Regions from separate parts of the Homo sapiens genome. Here all the other regions are linked to region 1. The links are contacts of gene promoters, found by promoter capture Hi-C in blood cells and fetal thymus (Javierre and others, 2016). All regions are on one chromosome and are shown on one strand. Each heading gives the region's core, a stretch centred on a gene start or on the middle of the fragment in contact. The rest is flanking DNA. Distances are from core to core; before and after follow the strand shown. Region 1 holds the start of LGR4 (leucine rich repeat containing G protein-coupled receptor 4). Region 2 overlaps BBOX1-AS1 (BBOX1 antisense RNA 1). Region 3 overlaps BBOX1-AS1 (BBOX1 antisense RNA 1).

Evidence for each region. Contacts are between HindIII fragments. The CHiCAGO score rates a contact against its expected background, and 5 or more counts as called.
Region 2: a fragment that was not itself captured here is called in contact with the fragment with the promoter of LGR4 in region 1 in 10 of 17 cell types (erythroblasts, naive CD4 T cells, endothelial precursors and 7 more); the score reaches 9.2 in erythroblasts.
Region 3: a fragment that was not itself captured here is called in contact with the fragment with the promoter of LGR4 in region 1 in 7 of 17 cell types (erythroblasts, activated CD4 T cells, total CD4 T cells and 4 more); the score reaches 9.8 in erythroblasts.

The regions. Positions count from the first base shown.
Region 1 is chr11:27,469,871-27,475,005 of GRCh38, forward strand. LGR4 (leucine rich repeat containing G protein-coupled receptor 4) reads right to left here and starts at 2,920. Exons shown (of 18, transcript NM_018490.5): 1 at 2,248-2,920. The coding sequence starts at 2,432. It overlaps LGR4-AS1 (LGR4 antisense RNA 1), which reads left to right and starts at 1,861. Exons shown (of 4, transcript NR_131170.1): 1 at 1,861-1,962; 2 at 2,908-3,087; 3 at 3,298-3,326. RefSeq lists silencers at 2,034-2,093, 2,344-2,513, 2,644-2,693. The HindIII fragment of the contact is 11,499 bases long and covers 1-5,135 here.
Region 2 is chr11:27,178,440-27,183,574 of GRCh38, forward strand. All of the region lies in intron 2 of BBOX1-AS1 (BBOX1 antisense RNA 1), which reads right to left. Among named protein-coding and RNA genes, the nearest start is that of BBOX1-AS1, 38 kb to the right of the region's middle. The HindIII fragment of the contact is 5,101 bases long and covers 1-4,710 here.
Region 3 is chr11:27,194,275-27,199,409 of GRCh38, forward strand. All of the region lies in intron 2 of BBOX1-AS1 (BBOX1 antisense RNA 1), which reads right to left. Among named protein-coding and RNA genes, the nearest start is that of BBOX1-AS1, 22 kb to the right of the region's middle. The HindIII fragment of the contact is 2,078 bases long and covers 1,687-3,764 here.

The sequences.
Region 1 (5,135 bases), core at 1,670-4,169:
ATATATGATCGACTGGAGTGTGCAAACCTGCAGCACTGGCCTTGCTTCATACATTGCTTTTGAGAATCACTGAATGAGCTAGTTTCCCCATGAGTAAAATGCAAATATGCTGTCCTTGAAAACCCTTTTAGAGAGGGTGGTTATATATATTTTTGAGGGTGAAATGAGTACTAAGGAGAAATAAGGAGTCACCAGAATGTACGATCACTCTACCTACAGGTCACAAATCTAAGAAAATAAAACACATTTGCACACCACCAAAGCTCAGAAAGTGCTAAGATAATGCTAGTTTAGGCACTCTAATTGAGACTGGTACCAATTATTTTTCTGTTTCCTAAGCCATGAACACTAACTTATTCTAAGGCCCAAAGTTGAAGATACAGCATTTCACCACCTTCAGTGAGTTCTACCAGAAGATGCTTTGGAGAGAGGAGTATGCTCTCATAAAAGTGTGATTATTTCTCTGTGGTTTTAGATACTAATGTAAAACAGCCCGTTTCCTTATAGGACAAGTCTACTCACTAAAATGTGAGGAATCTGCTAAACAAGGTCTTTACTACTGGTCAAAATAGTAAAATTGTGCTTTTCTATTCTATGCAGAGCCTTGCAAGAGGTTCAGGTAAAGGGACCTTTCTTTCTGCATTTCTTTCTGCACGAATTCCCTAAACGTTTCTAGAGAACTTGGGGAAAAATTAGTCCCATTTCCTCTCCACAGGTCTTCTTTCTCTTGATTCAATCAATTCCTGCTCAAACTTTCCCACTTAATGTAACTTTATGAACAAAATGCTCTTCACTGCAAAGTTAACTTTTTTTTTTAATGACAAGTTAAACTTCACTATACTGAAAAAAAAAAAAAACCTCAAATACATAACTAAAACTAACCTGAGACAGGAAAAATAACAAATGGGGAGGGGAAGGCTGAAGGTAGAAGAATGAAACAGGTTCCAAGACAACAGGCCTCGATGCTCACTAAAAGTCCATCCTGAGAGGGCAAGCGGAACACCTTTGCCACCACCCACCTGGAAATACAGCAATGCTCCTGCCTGCATAAAGATTTCTTCACAGGGTCCTTTAAAACTGTCTATTTCTAAGAGGTCCCTTCCACTACAGGTAAAAGGAAATTCCCTCTACCCTAGGGCCCCTCAGGATCCCTTCCTCTCTCACACGTTTCTTCGACTGCTCCTGATTTAAGCATTCAGCTGGCCACGCAACGCAAGAAGCAATAAGAACACAAAAACCCTACCCTGTTCCTCCTCTATCCGTGGCCTTTGCCACCACCTCCACAACCTAGTTCAGATTCCTCTTCTTTTCTCAAGGGAACGTCTAAAGCTCTCAAGTCCGTTTTGGCAGGGCGATTTTGTAAGTCTGAAACATTTCAGTGTGTCTCTCGATCTCAGGCAGCTCAAAAGAAAAGATCTGCTGGCTGCGTGAAGGTGCATTAGAAACCTGCTGCTACCTTGCAGCCTGGGCTGAGCATATGCTCCGGAACTTGCTTCTCTTCCAACATCCTGCACCTCAGGTCAGCATTCCTTCTTTAAAAGGCCTTGTTGGGTAAGAGCATGTCCACCAACAGAACCCTGTAATTCTCCCTTGTTTTCTCGGACTCCCCTGCGTGCTGCAGAAGCCTGGGCGTTAGTGGGGTAGTCCCGAGTGGAACTGGGCCGAGGTAGGTGCCGGGACGCACTACCTGGATGGGGCCAAATTGGAAGGAGATTCGCCCTGACTGAGGTACAGGTGTTTCTTCTCCCCACATGCTGGAACCCAGGAGGCTCCAGGTGCTTCCCCACGAGACATGCCTCGGTATGCAGACTGAGGCCAAGTTCTCGGCGCCCTCAGCCCCGCCAGTAGCGGAACTCCTGCCCGCTGAGCGAGGGCCCTCATGAGAAGGGAAGGTCGCGTGGACAGGCTGCCAGGGGCAAGCGTTTTTAGATTACTTCCTCCTTCTTGGCCCCAGATGCACTTGTGAGTTGGGGGTGTGCGCGGTGGGGTGGGAGGGTGCTTGTGCCCAAAAAGTCTGGGAACGAAAGCTACTGCTGGCTCGAACCCGGACTAGCAAAGTGCGGAAAGCCCGTGGCACAGGAGTGGGTGCCAGGCAGCCCGCACGCAGGTGACCGGCGGACCCCCTCCCCAGGCCCGGGCGGCGGCGGGGCGGGGTGGGGTGGGACTGACCCCTGGCTCCGCCCCGCGGCGCCCCCCGCTGGGCCCCGTTTCCTCCCCCCCCCTCGCGTCCCCGCCGCCCGCACTCACAGCGCTTGGGTGAAGGCGCTGAGCCCCTCGGGCACGGCCGTCAGCCCCTTCCCGGAGCAGTCCACCCGACGGTCGCCGTCGCAGCTGCAGGGCGCCGCGCAGAGAGGCGGCGCCGCGCCGCTGGGCCCGGCCGAGCCGAGCAGCCCCAGGGCGAGGAAGCAGAGCAGCCCTAGCGGGCCCGGCATTGCTGCGGCCGCCTCCCGCGCCGGCCTCTCCCGCGGCGCTGCTCGCTCCGCTGCCCTCCGATGTCCCCCGCCGCCCCCGGGCAGCCGGCCTGCGGGCTGGAGCGGGGGTCTCTTCCTCGGCGGTCCGCGCGGGCTCGGCCCCTTCAGCAGTCCGCCGCAGCGGCGCAGGGACGCGGCGCTCCGGAGTTTCGCCCTTCCCGCTGCTCCATGGACGCGCAGAGGCAGCCCCGCTCCTCCGGCGGCTCACGCCAGCCGGGCCGGCCCGGCGCAGCGGCGGGGGCCGCGCTCTGCCATCGCACCGGTCTCCCTGTCCCTGGCCTCTCAATGCAGCGGCTCTTCAAGGTTGCAGAGCGCAGCCTTCAGCCATGCCGGCCACTCGCCCCAGCCCCCGCCGTGGCTCTCGCACAAACACCCAGACTCTGGCTCGCTGTCTCCCAGCCGCGGCTCAATCTCTTCCCGTCCTTTTCCCTTCTAGGGTTGCACGCTCTGGTTCCCAAACCCCCGGCCGCTGGCTTATGCAAATCACTTAGGTACATGCAAAAGTATCCCTTCTCCCGGAGCGCCATTGGCCCGGGGAGGTCTCGAGCTCATTACTATGCAGAGAGGAGAGCCGCCATTGGCCAAGAGGAGGACCAGAGGGGCGTGTTTCTCGGGCGTGAGTGACAAGGTGGTGGTGGTTGTGGTGGTGGCGGCGGTGGTGGTGGTGGTGGTGGCGGCGGTGGTGGTGGTGGTGGTGGTGGTGGTTCAAGGCAAAATCTTGACTTGGCTGGATTTGTCTGGCAGGTTGTGGATTGAAGGTAGAAGGATAGTAGGACAAGGGGTCTAGTTTTTCCCTCCCCCACCCGTCTTTTTGTTCCCTCCGCAGAAATTGGATCTCCTAAATTGGATGACCTGGTAAGTAGAACTTCCCTCCAGCGTTCAGTTAAGTTTTAAATGACTCTCCGCTGTTCCAAAGGGCGAGGACGTCTGGAGCTCTGCAAACGGAAAAAAGATTTTGAAGAGGAGGAAAAAAGTTTCCCTCGATCTGACACACATCTTTGGGTTTTAGCTATACACTAAGTTAAAAGTGTACCCTCTCCAGTGCCTCACTTCACCTGGGATCTTTACACCTATCTTGATACACATTTGGTAGCTAAGTCTTAGCAATTCATTCTCCCCAGTCCTCTCTCTGTATTTGGTGTTTTTGGTGACTGCAAATTAGACTCCTTTCTCACGCACTTTAAAATCCTGAAACACAGGAATTTTGTAAAAGGTCAGAGAAAGTGATGTTTCTGAACACTGGACAATTTCCAAAACATCTGAGTGGGAGGTGACTACGGCTGAGAAGCCAGCAGCAACGTTGGTGTTAGGTAATTATCAGCATTCCCTCCTCTTCTGGATTTTGAGTCCCTGTGGCCTAATAGACCCCACGGAATCATTACCTGTACCAACTACGGCTTTAAGGGTACTTCGTTTCTTGCTCTCTGCCATGGCGTTGAGTCGTTTTACTCTATAATGGAGACATTTTTAATGAATACATTAAAACAAGCAGGATTCGGCCGGGCGCGGTGGCTCACGCCTGTAATCCCAACACTTTGGGAGGCTGCGGCGGGCGGATCACCTGAGGTTGGGAGTTCTAGACCACCCTGACCAACATGAAGAAACCCCGTCTCTACTAAAAATACAAAATTAGCCGGGTGTGGTGGCAGATGCCTGTAATCCCAGCTACTCGGGAGGCTGAGGCAGGCGAATTGCTTGAGCCCGGGAGGCGGAGGTTGCGGTGAGCTGGAGATCGCGCCATTGCATTCCAGCCTGGGCAACAAGAGCAAAACTCTGTCTCAAAAAAAAAAAAAAAAAAAAAAAAAAAAAGCAGGATTTAAAGATAATTATCATATAAAGTTGACTAGCCATCGTATGTAAATAAAACTTAGGACAATGGAAACAGGTTGATGCAGACCTATAAGTTTAAAATGAAAAAATTTTATCATCTTTGTATTTGGGAGTTTATCTAAAAGATAATGTCAGGTTGGGCACATAAGTCACATACAGTAAATCTGTCTAGAAGCTAGAGAGTTAATAAATAAACATATGCCTTCATTTCAAGTTTTAGGAATGACATATCTCCTCTCACTGCAGGGCTGAAAGACAACTTAAAGACCCCCAGAAAACTCTGGTTTTATAGATAAGAAATCTGAGGCTCGAGAGAGAGTGTGTTCTGCCCAACATCATCACGGAACAGCTCCTGGGCTCCTGGCTCCTAATCTGGTACTCTTAGAGCCTTCCCTAAATAGGCTTTCATCGTCTAAATCATTTCCATTATTTTCTAGCAACTGTCATGAACAAATAAGGAAGAAATTGTAAAGTTAGTTTCTGTAATCGTTTCTTTAAGATCTCTTCTTTTTTTTTTTTTTTTTTGAAACGGACTCTCACTCACTGTGTCCAGTGGCGTGATCTTGGCTCACTGCAACCTCCACCTCCCGGGTTCAAGTGATTCTCCTGCCTCAGCCTCCCCAGTAGCTGGTATTACAGGTGCCCACCACCATGTTTAGCTACTTTTTTTTTTTTTTTTTTTTTTTTTTTTTTAGTAGAGATGGGGTTTCTCATGTTGGCCAGGCTGGCCTCAAACTCCTCACCTCAAGTGATCCACCTGCCTTGGCCTCCCAAAGTGCTGGGATTACAGTCATGAGCCACGGAGTCCGGCTTATATGCAAATCTTGATTAAAA
Region 2 (5,135 bases), core at 910-3,409, 290 kb before region 1:
GCCCACCCCAAATCCCTCCTCTACCTGAAGTCTTCCATTTTCTCTGTCGTGATCCTCTGGTTCACATAGCACTTAATTTTTCATTCAGTTATGGCATTTATTTCATTCTGCCTCATGTTCCAAAAAGTTGTTTACAACAGGTCAGTCTTTTCCACAAGACTGGAAGCAATTCAAAAGCAGGAAGCCTGCTTTAATCATTTCTGATACCCCCACCTCTACCATGGTGCTTTGCAAACCACAGATACACAATCCTGTATGTATATGGGTCAAGTTGAATTGTTCAAAGAACCCAGTATTAGAAATTCCTGGAGGGCTAGACATCGTGTGGGCCTTCTGAAGCACAAATGGAAAACACTTTGCCCACAGTAGGAAGGAATTCATCAGGAATTCATCTTGGGCCTGCCTGTGAGTCCACTTGTTTTCCTCATTTTTAATTACAAACAAGCTGCCTCATGTGTTTTCTTTTTCTGCTACCAGAACGTACTGTCAATGAGCTTTGTTTTGGTCCAAATATTGATGCAGCAAGTGTTCGTCAGCAAGTCTGAGCCCTGGTTCCAGCAGCGTGTTGAGGGATTCCAACACTTTGGGCCAATAGTCAGACTTCGTTATGACTTCCTGCTCCTCTCCAAAGGCCTGGTGGGGCACGTAGGATGTAGTGGAAAGAACACAGAGTGCAGAGACTGAAGATCCAAGTTGCAGACCTCCCACTTGCTTTTTATTTGACCTCATGCAAGTTCCTTGAGGTCTCTGAACCTTGCTTTCTTCATCCATAGGTGAGTTCATATGAAAAAGCAAGTATGGAAATATTTTCTAGACCCTAGGTCTCTGGAAAGTTAAGGTGCTATCTTGTATATCAAACAACTTGGTCTGCTAAAGGAATAAATGTGTCCCTCCCAGGCAGAAAACTGCTGTGGCCCACTTTTGGGTGAAAGTTAAGTAACCACTGCTAAAAGGCAGCTATGAAGAAAAGGTCAGCTATTGTCTCTTCTGGGAACTCATCAAAAACATAATTGCTCAATGACTGGAAAATATGCCCATTTGTAAATGGGTGGCTGCTGTCTTCCCACTCTTTGCCAAGACTCTCTCATCATCAGCTTGACTGTAAGGAGAGAAACTCCGAGCAAAAATGAGTCCTGCCTCAGGGTACCTCTGGAGAGACTTCCACATTGCTGTTGGCTCCTCTGCCAAAGATATTCTGTCAAGTTCAGTTAAGGAGCCCCAGACAGTATGGCTGTGTTACCACACAAGATTTCTGCGCTTGCCATATGCACGCAGGTCTGCAGAGCCAGCAGCCAGCAGCTGTGTTTACAATTTCCCATCACCCTTGTTAATTAATGAATTCATTTTGGGCCTATTACTTACCCTGAGTAGGCTTCTGCAGCATGGGGTGGCTGCGGGTCATCCCTGCAGGAGAGCCATATGACAACTGGGCACTGTTTATTGTTGTTGTTGTTGTTGTTTTTGAGACAGAGTCTTGCTCTGTCACCCAAGCTGGAGGGCAGTGGTGCATCTCGGCTCACTGCAACCTCCACCTCCCGGGTTCAAGCGATTATCCTGCCTCAGCCTCCCGAATAGCTGGCATTACAGGCGTGCACCACCAGACCCGGCTAATTTTTGTACTTTTAGTAGAGACAGGGTTTCACCATGTTGGCCAGGCTGGTCTCAAATTCCTGACCTCAGGTGATCCCTATGCCTCAGCCTCCCAAAGTGCTGGGATTATAGATGTGAGCCACCATGCCCAGCTTAGGCACTGTTCTTGATTGGAGGCAGTGCAGGGTATGTCCCGGGGATGGGTGAAAAGGTGGTTAAGAGAACATAAAGCAATTTTTATGCACCAGGGCTAAGCATTGCCTTCCTCCATTACTAAGACCCAGTCAGCTTTAAAGAGGCTCTCAGCTTTTGTTTCCATGATTTTGAAGATAATGGTTTCCAAATTGCCAATGTGCAGCACATTTCAGATAAAATCCCAAACAAAATGTCTGTGAAGATATGAACTAAAATCATAACCACTTCCATTGAAATATTACTTATCCCCTGCATTGTAAAATTTTCCCATAAACCTGATCCCAAGGGCATAAAGAAGTGACTACCAGATCCCATGGCAATTCCAAGGGAGAAGAGAATCCTGTCTTATTTTCTAATAAGTCCTGCTTTGTAGTAGACTTTATTTTTGGAAGGCTCTAAAATGGGAAGCAGGGGAATAGGGAACTAGGAAATGAATTCAGTCTTTTACAGTTTTACTCTCTGGAAACAAAAGTGTCTACTTGTGTGGTTGTGATGGCAAATGAGTGGTATCCTCAAACCCCACTGCTCTGTGGGACCAGAATCAAACAAAAAGAACAGAAAAGGATTACTATCAAAATATTCATGAGGTTATATAAAAAAAAAAGTACCATGATTAGACAGTCTTTGTTTTTCATAAGAGACTATTCCTGTCTTTTAAAACAAAGATCTAACAAAGTCTTTGTGATTATCTAATAGAAAAAAATTTTTTGCAATACCAGAGGCTTAGTGAGCAGAATTGAACCCAAAGTTTTGCATTCTAATTCTGGCTCTATCACCAACCATCTGTGTAACCTTTGACTACTCCTCTCCCCTTTGGTTTTTACATTTCTCATCTGCACAATAACACTAAAAATAATTGGGCTCCTTCCCTTTTCAGGACTCTTGATTTCAAACAGAGGATGGAGGGGAAACTGATTTATAAACATAAAGGATGGCTATGATAATGAAGATTATATTCTAGGGCAGAATTTTAAACATTCTGTTTGTTGTTTTCCTTCTTAGAAAGATTTCTATAAAGCTATTTGTTTCAAAACTTAAAAAAAAAAGAATGTTAAATTTTATCCCATTGTATAATGTCTGGTGGATTGGGGTATGTATGTATTTAAGTTTTCCATCCAAAACATGATTTACAAAGACAGGTAAGGAATACATCCTTTAAAAATTTTATGTATTTTATTTTATTTTTTCTATTCTATTCTATTCTATTCTATTCTATTCTATATTTTATTTTATATTTTATTTTGATGGAATCTTGCTCTGTCTCCCAGGCTGAAGTGCAGAGGCTCAGTCTCTGCTTACTGCAACCTCCGCCTCCTGGGTTCAAGCAATTATCCTGCCTCAGCTTTCTGAGTAGCTGGGATTACAGGTGCCTGCCACTATGCCCAGCTAATTTTTGTATTTTTAGTAGAGACGGGGTTTTGCCATGTTGGCCAGACTGGTATCAAACTCCTGACCTCAGGTGATCCCCCCGCCTTGACCTCTCAAAGTGCTGGGATTACAGGCGTGAGCCACCGGGCTCAGACTAAAAATGTCATTTTAAAAAAGAGAAATAAAACAAATGTTAGCCTAATAAGAAGAATATGAATGAGCATTTTATGAAGTACAGCAAATACCAAGTGACAACAGATTGAGTGTGCCTAGGAAGTAAACTCCATATACACTGTCACCCCTAAATGAGCATAGATACCCTGGAGGGAATATATTGATATATTCCTAGGATCATCTAGACTCAACATTTATGTCAGTGAAATCAGCATTTTTGGATGGAGTCACATAATTTACTCTACAGTATTATCTTTATAGCTGGGAAAGAAAGAAAGAAAAGAGAAAGAGAGAGAAAGAAGGAAAGAAAAAGAAAGAAATAGAGAGAAAAAGAAAGAAAGAGAGAGAGAAAGAAAGAAAGAAAGAAAGAAAGAAAGAAAGAAAGAAAGAAAAAAGAAAAAGAAAGAAATTAAAACCTAGTTATGAAAGTTATTATGCTGAATGAAAAAAGCCAGTCTCAAAAGGTTGCACAGTGTATGGTTCCATTTATAATGACATTGTAAAAAAGACAAAATTACAATAGCAGAGAATGATCAGTGGTCAGCAGTGATTAAGGGTGGAAGCAGGTGTGCCTACTGAGGAATAGCACAAGAGAGTTTGGGGGCTTACTGAACTGTAGTGCATCCTAATTGTGATGGTGGTCACACAAATCCACACATGTCTTAAAATTCATAGAACTGTACAGCAAAAAAGTCCATTTCACTATACGATAATTTAAAAATAAAATTAACAAAAGTGATAAAATGCAAAAATAATCACATTGTTCAATTACATGCAGCAGAAGTCCAGCCTTGACCTCTGATATGTCACTAGATTTATTAAAAAAAAAAAAAAAAGTTTTACAGTGGCTCTTTTCTAACTTTAATAAGCACATAAAATCCTTGGGGCTTTGGTTAGGATGAAGATTCTCATTCAGTGGATCTGAGATGGGACCTGAGTATAATAACTAGGTGATGCCCTTCTGTGTCTGTAGACAACACTGAGAGATGTGTAGGCTTTGTATTATTTAATTCATTTAAAGCAATTATGGCAAGTATGTGTTGTTTAGAGCAATTATGGCAAATATGTGTCATATGCCAATCACCCCCATTCCTCACCCATAGCAGAGATCACTCATTGTTCAAACATAAGTTCCTCCTGAGCCTAAATATGCCCATTAGATAGAGCACTGTAGAGGGCAGGCGCTGCTTATAAGAGTGGTCATGTGAGATGGAACGTGGAGGACTGATGTTAGTCCCATCCAGCGGCATTACAGAGAAATCCACCAAGAAAACTCACATCCTTTCTGGGGTCTTACTGTCCTATCTCCAAAACTCTGTGTGTTCTAGACAAACTAGCCACAGTCAATAACAGATATATCTTTCCTTCCAGCTAAGATAAGCAAGCTTGTCTTTCTGACCAGTCTGTCAGAAGCCTAATTGAAAAATAAAATTAACAAATGTGGTAAAACGCAAAAATAGCCTAAATGACTTGAGGGCAGGGACGTATCATCCACTTCTTTTGGTAATTCCCTTCTTACTACTTTGAGCCTCAGTTTCTGCATTTATAAAATAAGAATCATAATCTTATCTCGTAGACTTGTTGTGAGGACTAATAAGATAATCAACACGGAGCTCTTAGAATAGTACCCAGCGCAGAGTAAGACTCAGTATTTGGCTACCGTTATCGTTATTCCCCCAGCAATGGCCAACATGGTGCCATGCTCATGTTCAAAAACAGGCTGGGCATGGTGGCTCACGCCTGTAATCCCAGCACTTTGGGAGGCCGAAGTGGGTGGATCACTTGACGTCAGGAGTTCAACACCAGCC
Region 3 (5,135 bases), core at 1,476-3,975, 280 kb before region 1:
ATATCCAAATCTAACTCATCAGGCTTTCAAATGCAACATTCTTTGCAGAACTAGATGACTGTAGTATTGATTTATCTTTATACATAATAAAATGCATAATATTTAATTTCCTGAAACATTAATCAAACTATTAACTTTTTTTAATGATGAATTTTTAACTATAAATAGAAAATGTGCCTTTTTTAAGAAAAAAAGCTAAATGAATAATTTTTCCAAAATTAATCTCTTTTTTTTTTGGTTCCAGAACCAAAAAAAAAGTGGAATATGATATTAATTTTGCATTATGAGGTGATCAGCACTTCCAACCAGCCCTCTGTTTTATTCTTAAGATCCTCTAGTTTTCCACATGGACACTAACACAACAAGAAAATTCCTCTGTATAGAAACTGGAATATAATCCCATAAATTATCATGTTTTATGACTGGAAAATATTTGCCAATGAAGAAATTGTCTGTAGGTATTTGTCTTAAGATTTTTGGCTGTTTAATAAAAATATAACTTTATTAAAAAAAAGAGAAAATTCCTCTGTACCCCCAACTTTCAATTTTAAGAAGTAAATAATCCATGCAGACAAAAACAAACACGAATTTTCTCAACCCTATCCTCTTGCTTCCTAAAGCAAGCAAAAGCAAACAGGTGATAAAGAGGTGAAGGGCTAAGAAGAGAGAGAACTAGAAAGATTTTTCAAAAAAATCAAATCTGCTCACAACATTCCCCTTCTCACAAGCTTTCATGTCTGTCTACAGCCAACAGAATGGTCCAGCTTTTTAGAGAAGTCAAGAGCCCCACACTTACCCTTCTTTCCCCATCCTAACACCATCTTCTTATGCTTTGCTCCTGCCATGCCAGTCTGCCAGCATTTCTCCAGACACACTCTGCACTTCCACGTCTAATTCCTTTGGTATTCAGTGGGCTTCTTGCAGACAGTGGCTGGTCTTAGTGGTATTTGTGTTCTCACCAGCTTGCAGGATGCCTCACTACTTATAGTCTATGAGTGTTTCTTAAATTGAGATTCCTGAATGTATTTAAAGTCTCCAACTTTGTCAGCTTTCTTAACATGCCATTTATTAGTAGGCTAAGAAGTCTCTGGGTAAGTCACAGGCACACACACAAAAAAACAAGTTTCTATGATCAGACGAAAGTACAGGGAAATGCACACTCATGGATGAAGCGTAAATAGTATAACTTTTCTAAAGAGTAATTTAAACATACCTTTTCAGAAGTAGGAATGCCACTCTTGACCTAGCAGTTCCACTTCTGAAAATTTAATCTAAGAATCTTGTATATGTATAAGCAAGTTTATCACAGCAATGTTTATAGTTTCAAAATATTGTAAACAATCAAATTTCTTAACAATGAGAGATGTATTAACTAAATAATGGTTCATTCATGTAATAGAATGAGAGTGTGTGCTCAATAAATGTGAGAAAATGAAAGAACCATATCATAGAAGTATTTGCAGCCTTGGAACAAGGACAATGTTATACTAACAAATAAAAAATATAGTCTGCTATCATAATCAAATTTTTTAAATAAATGTTTTCTTTATAGAAAATGTCTAAAAGAACATGTGATTATTTTTAATTATTTGAGTGACTGTAAAAGTTTAAAATGAGAAAAATAAGATACTGTGAAGTCAGGTAAACACTGTATCTTAATAGGAACATGTCAAACTGCCCTGGGCAAGCTTTGTTCTTCTGAATAAAGTAATACAGAAAAAGTCCATTAGCTTAATGTGTTAGTTTGCAAGCCACTGAAAAATCTTAGCCATGTCAGTGGATCAACCCAGACACATACTGGAAGACACCCCACCATGGAAAGCTGAGATGCCCACATTACATAAGCAACATTGTCCTTACATCAGCTAATGCATTTTTAAAGAACTGAAATTTTTATTGCTTTTTTTTTTTTTTAGAATTCCTCCTCTTACTGCACCTATCTCACCACCCACATGCTCAGCTCAATCATCTCATCAAAGAGAGAATGAAACTGTTTTTCTATGTCCTCCCCCTATTCTCATCTGAACAGAGTTCGCTTGAAACCCATTCATCAACCAGAAAAATCTCTAGTTGAGACTAGAACATCTTAAAAACACACAGAGAAAGATAAACAGAAAACTGAATTACACTTTCTTGGACATTTCAACCCCCAGTGGGCTTTCAAATTCCATTTTGGGTCATTATTGGGTAGCTTCATTGATTCACCTCATGGTTTCAAACAGAGCTCTCAGTCTGCAAGAATGAAGATGTTATCACCAAGAAAGTGAAGGGCCTGGGAGACAGCTGCTTGCTTTTACAGGGACTGACGTATCTGGAAGAAGAATCAGCCTGGCTTCTGAATATAAATAGGAATTAGTTAGGTAGACGTAGAACAAATAAGCACAGTGATTGAGAGACCTTTCCCACAAAGCAAGTCCCCGTAGAGGAGGGGAAAAGACCAGACACCTGAACCCTCCCTAGGGTCTCTCCCAGACTCAGAGTTAAAAGGAAAACAGGCTTTGGAGTTGACAACCCTGATTAAGAATGCTGATTTGGCCACCTCGTAATGGTATGTGCCAGGCAAGTTACAAAATTCTAAGTCTCCGTTTTCCTGCTGGGGAAGTGGGTGCAGTAACACCTACCTCACAGAGTTGTTGGGTGTAATTTGAACTAACACAGGAATTCATGCCTTGCCAATCTTGAGGACTAAATAAATGGTGATATTCTTTGAGGAGGGGAAGAGAAGCCAGGCAGGGTACAGTGAACATTTTTAGGATGGAGATTTCCAAATATTATCTTTTAGTCCCAGAGGATCAGGCAACATCCACCAACCAGAGCAGGAGGGACCAGTTGAATTCTCTGTCTAGCTGTCTCCACCCAGCTAGAGGTCAGGGTTACTCTGGTCTTTCCAAGGAAGAAAGCAAGGATCCTGTTTTTAGGATCAGCTTATCTCCCTCACTAGCCTCATGCTCTTTGGTGTCTTTTTCTACAATTTTCAGGATAGGTAACGTAGATGATTACCCATGAGGGTAAGCGTCTACATGTCATCAGAAAATTTGATTAAACACCCACCCATGGCTGTGGTTTGAGGGATTTTGAGGCACAGACCAGAAAATAAACAGGGGAAGGGATTAAAGAGAACAAGAATTACCAGATGGAACTGGCATCCTTCACGGATGGTGCATTTGAGTTATTGGAGTTTAATCATAAACCCATCATTTGGAAATGCAAAACTCACTGATGTGCAGGGCTTGACATTTTTCAGCTGATGCACTCCCTGCCAAATGAGATCTCACTTGCCTGAATGAGGCAAGCAGGGAAACCAAGGTCGTTTCCAGGGGCCTCCCTGGGTCATTTCCCATCACCTTGCATGCCAGCACACTTTCTGTCTCTCTTTTTCTGTCTCTCTCTGTCTCTCTCTCTTTCTTTCTGGTGATACACACACACACACACACACACACACACACACACACACACACACACACAGCCACAGATCCCCGTAAGAATGATAAAAGCAATGGCTAAAGCAAAGTGACAAACAGCCTTCCTGAAGTAAAAGGCTCATTGGCCTGGAAGGAATCTCAGACATCATGTCCCCTATCTGTCTGATAAGATTTCATCTGAAATCTTTCCCGGCTGAGTGGAGATCAGGCCAGTCCAAAAGATCACCATAAAATCGATTCCCACATATTAATTCATTCATCCATCACAACAACAGATACGTATTAAATGGTAAAGATATTAATAATAGAAGTGTGCATTTATTAAAACCCTACAGTGCACAAAGCTTAAGGGTGAGCAAAGCAGGCACTTTGCACAGAGCTAAAGACTTTCCATAGGAGGAAGATATTAAATAAATAACTACAAATAAAAGTGGATAGTTACAACCTCTAGCAAGTGCTGTGAAAGAGAGGAGGTTCAGAGAGCTCTAAGAATGGCCAATGTGGAGACCTGCCTACATCTAGGGATAATCTTGGTTTGTTCAAGGAACTCAATGAAGGCCAGGGTACTCAGAGCAGGTGGAATAAGAATCTAGAGAGATGGGCAGGGGCTAGACAATACTGGTCTCCCTGAGCTTGGAAGGATTTTATTCTTTATCCTGAGAGCAGTAGGAAGCTTATCCATGGAATTAAATCTTAAATAAGGCAGACAGAACAGGGCTAGTTTACATCCACTTCATCAGAGTATGGGTCTCTGGAGTCCAGGGCTGCAGACTTAGACCCCCTTAAAGCTAAACAGTATCACAGAGAGAAAACATTATCTATCCATCCCCCACACCAGGAAGACGCCCTTTCTCAGAGGCTGCTTATGGGTTACCATCATTTGAATCTGACACATTTATTGAGTTACCCCCACCTCCACCCCATGTCTGACCTAGTGTTGGCAGCTGGGAAGACGCAAGTAGACACAGATAAACAACCTAAAATCCAGGACAAAATATTACAGGTGCTAATAAAGGAGGTACTGAAAATGCAGCCAAGAGGGGCAGCAAGGTTCAACCAAAAGATACAGGGCCTGGACCCTGGGCTCAAGTTATGACTGTGCCACTTATGAGCCATGTGACCTCAGGAGGACACCTCTTTGAATCTAAGTTATTTTGCGGCCCTGAGAGTAAGTTGTGTGCATTGATAAGACTAATGAAGAGTTTATCTTGAATTTTAATAGTCAACTTACTAAAGTTATAAATCTAAGAACATATTTTATCTTTGGGTTTCACATTCAACTTATGAATCTTTATTTTCCCATTTAGAAATGGAGCAAATTTTAATGTCACCTTTTTTAGTCACTTTTAAAGAGTCTTTAACCAATGCTTGATTATATTTGCAGACTTAGGTAATTACATTTCTTCAAATTGTCTAAACTACATTTAGAAATTCAATTTCACTTTCAGGGCCCCAATTGTCTGATCAATAATGTTCCCAAATACTTAATCTAATAAATTATACTTATAAATATGATTGATATGAATTTCCATTTAAAGTTGTATGTCAATAATTTATTAGTATGCATTTTAAATTAGAATAATATAAATATTCTTTTATCTTAAATATTACAAGTATATAGAAATGCCAAATGTAGTCTGGCTCTTAATACAAAAATATTTTTATGATGATTTGAATCATCATTTGTATATATAATCTAAGCTTTCCAGGAAA